Regions from separate parts of the Homo sapiens genome. Here all the other regions are linked to region 2. Evidence: promoter capture Hi-C in human tissues and cell types (Jung and others, 2019). All regions are on one chromosome and are shown on one strand. Each heading gives the region's core, a stretch centred on a gene start or on the middle of the fragment in contact. The rest is flanking DNA. Distances are from core to core; before and after follow the strand shown.

Region 1 (3,466 bases), core at 775-3,274, 150 kb after region 2:
ATTTGAATATGTCTAGGTATAGTTTGAATATGTCTAGGTGTCATTTTGTGGGTTTTTTGGCATTTATCCTGCTTGGTGTTCTCTGAGTTTCCTGGATCTGTGGTTTGGTGTCTGACATTAATTTGGGGAAATTTGACTGGGCATGATGGCTCATACCTGTAATCCTAGCACTTTGGGAGGCCAAGGCAGGCAAATTGCTTGAGCTCAGGAGTTCAAGACTAGCCTGGACAACATGGCGAAACCCCATCTCTACAAAAAAATACAAAAATTAGCAGATGCCTGTAGTCCCAGCTACTAGGGAGGCTGAGGCAGGAGGATGGCTTGAGCCCAGGAGGCAGAGGTTGCAGTGAACCGAGATCGCACCATTGCACTCCAGTCTGGGTGACAGAACCAGACCCTGTCTCAAAAACAAAAAAACAAAAAAACAAAAAAATTGGGGGAGATTCTCAGTCATTATTACCTCAACTATTGCTTCTGTTCCTTTCTCTCCTTTTTCTCCCTGTCATAGTCCCATTACATGTAGGTTATACCTTTTATAGTTGGCCGACAATTATTTGATATTCCGTTCTTTAAAAAAATTTTTTTAGACGTTTTCTCTTTGCTTTTCAGTTTTGGAAGTTTGTTTTGTCATATGTTCAAGCTCAGAAATTCTTTCCTCAGCCATGTCCGGTCTGCTAATGAGCCCATCAAAAGCATTCTTCATCTCTATTACAGAGTTTTTGATTTCTAGCATCTTTTTGACCCTTAGAATTTCCATTTCTCTGCTTACATTATCCATCTGTGTGTGCATATTGTCTACTTTTTCCATTGAAGTCCTTAGCATATTAATCACAATTTAAAAAAAAATCCCTGGCCTGATAGTTCCAGGATTCTTGCCATAACTGACTCAGATTCTGATGATTGTTCAGACTTTTCAAATTGTATTTTTTGCTTTTTAGTATCCCTTGTACTTTTTTGTGAAAGGTGGATGGAATGTACTGGCTAAAGGAACTGCCATAAATAGGCCTTTAGTAATGTAGTAACATTTGGGGATGGTGGGTGTTCTATAATCCTATGATTTGGTCATGGGCTTTTCATAGGTGAGCCTGTGCCCTTGGACTGTGAACTTCACCAGTGCTTCTCTTGGTGAAGTTCCCTTAGGTGGTCAGGATGGCTAGAGGGGGCTGGAATACCCTCAGATAGGTTAGGGTCAGCTGATAAAACCACAACAGATGAGGCTGTGGTAAAATAGTTGCTCCTGAGGGTTGTCCTTGTTAAGAACAGAATGTTCAGGCAGGTTTCAAAATGGTTCCTTTCCCCCTCCCGTTAGCAGAAGAATGAGCACCTGTGAGGATCTGGCAGAGCTCCTGGAGGTAATAGTGTGGGGAGCCTCCTGTGATTGGGTCCCCCTGGGCTTTTTAACTCTCAGAGTTGACCATACTAAGCAATTCATCAATTACAGTTTAGGTTTTCCTACCCCTGCACCTTTTCCACACTAGTAAATTGTGATATTCTGTATCTACCAATGCATCTCTCCAATTACAGGGGCAGCAGTTTGCCCTGTGACCTCACTGCTCTGACATATCTAAGAAGAGTGGTTGATTTTTCCATGTGTTCAGCTTTTTAATTGTTGTTAGGATGGAGTGGTGACTTTTAGGCTCCTTTTGTGCCAAACCAGAAATTAGAAGTCCTAATTTTTTTTTTTTTTTTTTGAGTTGGGGTTTTGCTTTGTCTCCAGGCTGGAGTGCAGTGGTGCGATCTCGGCTCACTGCAGCCTCCAACTCCTGGGCTCAAGTGCTCCTCCCGCCTCAGCCTCCTGAATAGCTGGGACTACAGGCATGTGCCACCACACCAGAACCCCCAGCTAATTCCTTTTTTTTTTTTTCCCGGTAAAGATGAGGTCTCATTATGTTGCCCAGGCTGGTCTTGAACTTCTGGACTTAAGCAATCCTCTTGCCTTGGCCTTCCGAAGTGCTAGGATCACAGGCATGAGCCACTGTACCTGGCCCATTTCTAATATTTTTAATTGGCTGGCAGACATTTTGAATTTTATATTGTTGAGAAGTGGAATTTTTGGACTCAAGTATTTTTGAGCTTTGTTCTAGCACATTATGTTACTTAGAAAAAAATGTATTTTGTTAAATAAAATGTATAGGAGACCATTATTTTGGACTAGCCTCGTACACTAGCACTAGCAGACCGAGCCAAATCAGAATGGAGTCACTCATGCTGGGTGCCACATAATTAAACTGAACTCTGAAACAGGCCAGTCCACCCCCCACCCCGCTACCAAAAAAATACCCCCAGGAGATTCGCAGCAACCAATCAAAAGGGGCCCAGTTTACCTGAGCTGGCATGAAAATGAAGTTCCCTCTGTTTTTGTTGTTGTTGTTGTTTTTAATTTTTAAATTTTAATCTTTTTATTTATTTAGAGACTGGTTCATTTTTGCTAAATTGCTTGTCTTTCCGAGTTTCATAGCAGAGTTTTTGGTCTGTTTAAATTCATTATAAATAGACATTTAGGATGTCAGCTTCTGACCTCATGGACTGTGAGCTTACAAGTCCCCTGGTCTGTCACAGGCCATGCATATGAGGAATAAAAAATCAAAACATTTAAGTAATTTTGTTATAAAGAAATATAGTTATGCACCCCAAACACAGAAAACATTTCATTAAAAATTGGTCTTAGTCCTGCTGGGCGTGCCAGTGATTCTTTTAGGTTTGGACCTTGACTGAGAGAATTTCCAGTCGCTCTCTCCTCTCTGGGCAGAAGTTCCAGATCCTCTCTGGGCAGAAGTTCCAGATGATCTGATGGGCAGGGACTTAGGCTGTGTCCCCTGGGGGCTCTGGTCCACTAGTTGTTGGGACCGCCTGGGAGGGCGCAGCAACCCACTACGCCTGTGTCTGTTTTAACTCTATAAGGAAAGTAACTTTGAAACAACCAGACAATTTTCTGTTCTCTGTTTCTGCTTTTCTCAGGCCTTTTCTGTCTATAAAACCATACTTTTCTGCTTGGCTTATCGGAATACTCACTGTATTTTATAGAATAAGGTGTTGCCTTTTTCTAGAATCACAAAGAAAAGCCAATATAGATCTTTAAATCAAATTTGCTATAATTTTGTCTGTGTACCTTTCAAGACTTACTTTTAAGCTTGGATAGACAGGTCCAGAATAGCTGTTAGCCTTGGCCTCACTACTGAGACAATACTCTTCTGTGATGCTCTGTATATTGGAAGAAGGTCTTTCTGTTCTGGCTGGTGGAAATATCAATTATTCTTGGTCCTGTGTGAGCTCCAGGATTGTTCTGCCTAATCCTTTCAGGGGATCTTTCCTGCATTCAGGTCTGATAGTTTCTTCATAAGCATGACTGATTAGTACTTAGCTGATACTGTGTGTGTGAATGTGAGTGTGTGAGTGTGTGTGTGTGTGTGAGAGAGAGAGAGAGAGAGAGTGTGTGTGTGAGTGTGTATGTTTTCTTTAAGGCAGG
Region 2 (3,459 bases), core at 145-2,644:
CTGGGAGAGGGACTGCGGGGCCTTTGGCAGAGCTCTGGCTGATGGAACCAACAGAGGTGCCCATCAGCCAGTGCCAGGCAGGATGGCGGCCCCAATGCTTGGCTGGGGGCAGCCAGCATTTGGGGCTGTTGCTTAAGACAATTTCTGAGACTAATGGGTAAGGAATGTTGCCTTTAGATGGAGGAGAGGGGACTACATTTAGAGAGGAGGGAGGAGAAGTGGCCTGCATTGGGGGAGGGACTCTAAGGTTAGGTTAGGAATGACAGGGAGTTGGTCAAAAGGTCCTTCATGGCCAGGTGAAGGCTGGGGGGAGTGTGGTGATGGAGTCCAGCAGGGGAACTCTGGACAGGCTTGACTCAAGCCAGCTTCAGGAACTCCTGCAGCGTGTTTTGTTCCACAGCCTCCACGAAGAGCTCATAGTCCTGGAGAAGGGGAGGCGAGGGGTGGTCACCTGAATGCAGGGGGCCCAAGTGCTTTGTGGCAGATATGACCCTGGCTAGAGTCCTCTTCCAACACTCCCCCCACCCCCCCGTCCCCCAGCCCATACCCCACAGTACTGGTCCCCGTTGACAATCTGGGGTGGGGTGGCCTTGGGGTTGCCTGCCAAGGCTCGCATCTCATCCCTCAGGGCGTTGTCCTGGGAGATGTCCACTAGCTGGTATTGGATGCGCTTCCCATCCAGGATTCGGGTCACCTCGCTCTGCTGGGACTTGATCTGGGGACAGAGGGTGGGTAGGGGTTAGTGGATAGGCTGGAGGATTTATGGGGGAAATGCTGGGCAGGGTGAGAGAGGCTGTGACCAGGAGCTTTTGTCCCCCCATTCCCCTCCACACTAGGGGAGGGTTCTGGCCTCTAGGAGTTGGGAGGATGAGTCAGGCTTGAGGTGGTGCAGGATGAAGAGAGGGATTATCAGCCACGGGGGAGGGGGTCAGAGTGAAGGGAAGTGGGATCAGGCTCAGGGTGGGGAGGGGAGGGGAGGGCAGGCTGCGGTCGTGGTCAGGGTCAGCCCGGTAGTGGGAGTGCAGAGAATGGGTGTGGGGTTGATGGGGGATGGGCACGGGAAGTTCATGCCGCGGCTGCAAAGGACCCAGGATGCCCGATGAAGACATTCAGGATGGGGCCTCGGGACCGGGTCCGGGAGACCGTGCCCAGCACCTCGCCGACGCACTCCCCCCACCCCGCCCCCGTCCTGGGGGTGGGTCCCGGGCGCTAGGGTCCAAAGCACCGGGATACAGCCCTGCGCTTTCCCCCAGCGCCAGTCCGGGCGCGCACTTACTTCGCGGGAGCCGGTGACCGACGTGCTGTAGACGCGCAGGCCGCTCATGCTGGGGGTAGACAGACGGGCCGGCGGGCAGAGGGCGGCGGTAGCGGCAGCTGCACTGCCGGGAGACGACGCCGCCGCCGTGCTCGGGAGCGGTTTCCTTCCTGCTCCGCCCGCCAAGTCATCGCGCTCGGGACCAATGGGCGGCGCGGGCAGGCGGGGTGGGACCTGCGCGACACCGCCCCGCACGCCAGAGGCCCCTTCCCTTCCCCCTCGGTTACCAGGCGCGCAACGGACCCGTCCCACGCAGGGCGCCCCTTCTGCGGCTGCCCTGATCGTCCTTTTCGGCCCTTCCCTGATCTGGAGCTCAGTGTGAGACTGGGGAGGGGCCTGGGTGGCAGGACAGGCCCGGGAGAGGGTCTGGCAGAAGCCTCCCTCTCCAGCCGCACACAGGTTTGGTGCATCCAACTCCCCAGCCACGAGAGCCGCTCTCTCCAGGAGGAGGTGCTCTAATAGCACAGGGAAGCTTGGGGCTTTGGAAGGTTTGAGCTGCTTTCAGACCCAAAGTTCTCTAAGAACCTTGCTCCAAGGGATCCCTCGCTCCACCACCCAACACGCACCACTAACCCTAGGGGATAGGAAGCATAGGACAGCAGGAAGAGCCCATGCTTAGAGATTTTCCCCCAAGTTCCTCTCCACTCAGGTGGGAAGGTTTAGACAAGGAAGGGTGATAGCAGGACGCAGAGGCCACACCCTCAAGGAACCAGATGGAGACCAAGGCTGACAGCTGGAAAGCGTGGCGGTAGAGGATGATGTCAGGACTCGAGAGCCTAGGCTCAAGCTGACCCTTAAGATCCACCCCAGGTCTTGGGGTGGTCCAAGCTCAACCCCAGCTCCATGCTGCAGATGGCATTCCCAAACTGCTACTACTCCCAGCAAGAATTCAGCGGTTGAGGGGGCAGACTCCAGCAACGAGCCCAACTTTGGAGACCTAGCTGTCTGGCACTCAACATCATGCTTCTCAGATGTCCCCCTGGTCCAGGGCTCAGGCAGGTTAACAGCCCAGAAAGACAACCCTTGCTCTGGTAAAGCCACTTCCTCACAGCAACCCAGAGGCTGCCAACTTCCTGAGAGGACTGCTGAAACTTTCCAGTGACAAACTTCTGTTATGACTCAGGGAAGGTTTGCCCAAGAGAAAGTGAGTGGGAAGAGATCTGGTTCTATAGAACGACAGAGGAGCAGAGGTGGCAGAGATAGATAGGGACATGAGGCTGGCTGGACCTGCCAAAGGTTCCTCCACGCTGCTGCCTGGGGGACCTGGCTGAACACCCAGGTGTTTGGCTCTAACAAGCCAAAGTGAGGGGTAGAATAGCGTGGTGGTGGTGATGGAAGGGTATGGAAAACTGAGGAGTCTGTTAAGATACTTTATTTTATAATCAAAATACGCAATACAAACAAATGGACATAACAAAGATTCATATAAATAACTGGTTATAAACTTTATGAGGAAAAATACCCGTCAGCATGGTGGCTGGGCTCCCAATGCACAGGGTGGAGACCAACCAGGCGGCTCTGCCTTTAAGCAGCAGGAGCCCAGAGGCTGAAGGGCTGGCTGGGTGGGGCTGCTCTGAATGGAAGGGATAAGTCACTCCATAAATAAAACACAAACTTGTAAAAACACTTAAGAAAGAGCCTCATTCAGGCCCAGGCATGAGGTCCAAGATGCTGCCAACAGCCCAAAGCTTAGCAAAAATCTTGTAGTGGCTGACTGGCCCACACGTGGCCCCTGCCTGGCCTGGCTCCAGATCTAGAGGAGGCACGGCTGGCCCAACAACCAGATACTAACAAGTGTGAGATGCTCCCTAAACCAGGAGGCAAGAAAAACCAGAGGGCAAAGGTCCCTCACTAAAGCCCCAGAGAAACAACCCAGGAAACACTAAAAGCTGTACTTTAAAGCTGACTTGTACTGGGTACTCTGAACTTTCAAGGAGGCCAGAGCAGGAAAGGGAAAGGAATAACCCCCACCACCCCCAACACAAGAGAGGCACAAATTAGAGGGCTGGGCACAGGCTGTAGCCCTGGGTGAGGGGGTAAGCAGCTTGACAGTTGCTCTGTGGTCTCTGGGATATAATTCTGCCCAAGGCTAGAACCACAGAGAAGAGTTTGCACTCTTAAGTCCAGGAAGGGGACTACCTGGA
Region 3 (3,151 bases), core at 159-2,658, 180 kb after region 2:
AAGAGAGGTCACATGGGAAGAGGCAAATGGGCTGTCCCTAATTAGAATGGGTCCACAGGAAGCAGATTATCATGGAGCAATTTTACCTATAAACTATAGATAAATAAATACAAATCGGTAATATAAATAAATAATAGGTAATATTCATACTAACTTCTGTGCGAGGCACTGTGCAAAGTACTGTTTATAGAGTGATCTCATCTAATCTGCACAGTGACCCTGTAAAGCATGTGCTATTATTGTCCTCCCTTTTACAACTGAGGAAACAAAGGTTCTAAGAGGTGAAAGAACTTGTCCAAAGTCACACAGGCACTTCAATTGGGGTCTAACTGCGTGTGTGTGTGTGTGTGTGTGTGTGTGTGTGTGTGTGTGTTTGAGATGGAGTCTCGCTCTGTCCCCCAGGCTGGAGTGCAGTGGCACAATCTTGGCTTACTGCAACCTCCGCCTCCTGGGTTCAAGCGATTCTCCCACCTCAGCCCCCTGAGTAGCTGGAATTACAGGCGCCCGAGTAGCTGGAATACAGGCGCATGCCACCACTCCTGGCTCATTTTTGTATTTTTAGTAGAGATGGGGTTTCACCATGTTGGCCAGGCTAGCCTTGAACCCCTGGCTTTAAGTGATCTGCCCGCCTTGGCCTCCCAAAGTGCTGGGATTTCAGGCATGAGCCACCATGCCCGGTTGTGTGTGTGTGTGTTTTAAAAGACTTTATTTTTAGAGAAGTTTTAGGTTCACAGTGAAGTTGAGTGGAAATTACAGACTTCCCATATACACCCTGTCCCCAAGGCACATCTTGGAGTCTTTCTTCCCACCAGATTGCTGACCCTGAATTTCTCCTCTGGAGAAATTATGAGAGGCATCATTGATGCATTGTTAGAGACCTAGTACCCACTGAGCCAACCACAAGTTGTTATCAAAATGCCACAATGAGGTCATTAAGGGCGACTGGCTAGGCCTGTCAGTGAATGTTTCCGGAGCAGCTCCTAACTGCTGTAGCAGAGAGAATCCCCGACAGTGTCCCCTCCCTTCTTCTTCCCAAGCTTGGGGAGCCCCAGCCCCATTTCTTTTCTTTTCTTTTCTTTTTTTTTTTTTTTTTTGAGATGGAGTCTTGCTCTGTTGCCTAGGCTCGAGTGCAATGGCACAATCTTGGCTCACTGCAACCTCTGCCTCCTGGGTTCAAGCGATTCTCCTGCCTGAGCCTCCTGCGTAGCTAGGATCATAGGCATGCGCCACCATGCCTGGCTAATTTTTGTATTTTTGATAGAGATGGGGTTTTGCCATATTGGCCAGGCTGGTCTCGAACTCCTGACCTCAGGTGATCCACCCACCTCGGCCTCCCAAAGTGTTGGGATTATAGGCGTGAGCCACTGTGCCCAGCCACCCCAGCCCCATTTCTGCAGGGGGAGGCTGAGGGAGAAACTCCTTTAGGAAGGGTATTAGCTTTGGCACTAACACGCTGTGTCATCTTGAGCAAGAAAGACTCCCCCCTGCTGTGGGCCTCAGTCTCCCCATCTGCAAAATGAGGGGGTCTGACCAGCTCATCTCTAAGGATCCTTATAGCTCCAACACTCTGATTCTTGAATCCTACACCTCCACTATGCTTGTAATAAGAAGATCAAAATGTTTATTTCTGATCCAGCCCCTGAGACAAGTGATCTGGGGGCCCACAAAGGTCTTGCACCAGGTATAACATTAGCTGTTTTTGTCTTTGGATGGGTCCTAGTTGTCTTCTTGGTGAGGACTGAGAACAGCTGGAGCAGCTGATGGTTAAGACCCAGGTTCACATCTCCTGCCCCTGGGTCCAAGAGCTGCTGGGGATGCCACCATCTGAAAACCATGCTGGATGGGGGTGTTGGGAGTGTCCCAAACTGAGGATTCACCCGACTCCTCAGCAGGTCCTGAAGTGTTAAAGCTTCGGCTTCCTCTGATTCTCTGGCCTCTTCTGGATGCTTCATGTTGCAAGAGCAGAAACTCAACTCAAAGTGACTGAAAGGAATGATTGGTACATTTACCTAAGAGAAATGGAGGTGGGAGGGCTAGCTTCGGGAAGGAAGTTTGATTCAGCAGCTCACATGTCACCAAAGACTCTAGTTTCCTCTGTTCTGCCTCCCATGATGCTGCCTTCATCTTAAGGCTGGCTTCCCTTGTGGGCCTCGGGGTCACCAGTGGGAATTCAGCCTTATGAGATCATATCCTGCAGGAATGAGAAAGTCAACTTCTCTATTCCTCAAACAACATTCCTGAAATTAAGTCTTGTTGGACCTGATTGGCTAGGGGCTAGGGAGTAGGGGGTAAGAGATAGGGTTGTGGGCCCCTCCTTGACCAAGCTCTGTGTCCTGAAGGATGGGGCTTACTGGCAGGCTTAAATTCAGAGGCTGGTGGGTGGCTAACAAATGTCTTGACATATACCCCTCTCTTCAGAAGTCAACTAGTGCCTGGCACATGGTGGCACTTTGTTCGTTAAGTCAACAGCTATTTGGTGAATATCCACCACGTGCAAGAAATTGTGCTTGATGCTGAGAAAAAGCAGTGAACAGAAAGATAAGGTCCCTGCCCTCATGGACTTTCTCTGGGAGGGGAGACAGACATATAAATATGCAGACAGTACAATTCAACCAGTGCCAGCTGAGGTTACATAGCCCAGGGGAGGAAATCCAAACTGTGCTTCTGTGGAGGGGAATGGCGGGCAGGAAAGCTTTAGAGAGGAGGTAGCATTTACACTGGGCCTTAAATTTAGCCATTCCACAATGTATTCATATTTCAAAGCATCATGTTGTACATATGAGTAAATAAATACAATTTTTGTCAATTTAAAAAATAAATAGAAATTTGAGGGTCAGAGTGAGACACTCCTTTAAGCTGACATTCTTCAAATATTTGCTCTATGGTTATTTAGAGCAGGGGCTGGGAAGGAGGCACAGATAACCACACTTAGCCTCTCGATGGTCCTGACCTCCTGGACCCTGGACAAACCTGTAGACTCCACAAGGCCCGCTAATTCATGTAGCTGCGAATATTACTTAGGCTGGCCCCTGACCTCCCAGCCCCAAGCCTTATCCACATTTGTCTTCCAACAGTATACAGAACTCTCCTGGAGAGGAGTGCTAGTGAATGGAATATTCTGCAATGTGTATGGGAGCCAAAGTGCCAGGCA

The links. The method cuts DNA at HindIII sites, captures the fragments that hold promoters and counts their contacts. A contact is called where the count stands out against the background at its distance.
Region 1: a fragment that was not itself captured here is called in contact with the fragment with the promoter of SH3BGRL3 in region 2 in 2 of the 25 tissues and cell types used here (bladder and hippocampus).
Region 3: a fragment that was not itself captured here is called in contact with the fragment with the promoter of SH3BGRL3 in region 2 in 6 of the 25 tissues and cell types used here (dorsolateral prefrontal cortex, heart left ventricle, hippocampus and 3 more).

Annotation. Positions count from the first base shown.
Region 1 is chr1:26,128,731-26,132,196 of GRCh38, reverse strand. No RefSeq gene overlaps it. Among named protein-coding and RNA genes, the nearest start is that of PDIK1L, 19 kb to the right of the region's middle. RefSeq lists a silencer at 3,245-3,466. The HindIII fragment of the contact is 7,689 bases long and covers 1-3,466 here.
Region 2 is chr1:26,278,021-26,281,479 of GRCh38, reverse strand. SH3BGRL3 (SH3 domain binding glutamate rich protein like 3) reads right to left here and starts at 1,394. Exons shown (of 3, transcript NM_031286.4): 1 at 1,277-1,394; 2 at 548-715; 3 at 1-422. The coding sequence starts at 1,324. The coding sequence ends at 357. CEP85 (centrosomal protein 85) reads right to left here. Exons shown (of 14, transcript NM_001319944.2): 14 at 2,672-3,459. RefSeq lists enhancers at 99-985, 986-1,873 and silencers at 1,113-1,562, 1,039-1,610. The HindIII fragment of the contact is 5,211 bases long and covers 1-3,459 here.
Region 3 is chr1:26,101,708-26,104,858 of GRCh38, reverse strand. No RefSeq gene overlaps it. Among named protein-coding and RNA genes, the nearest start is that of PDIK1L, 8.5 kb to the left of the region's middle. The HindIII fragment of the contact is 4,487 bases long and covers 1-3,151 here.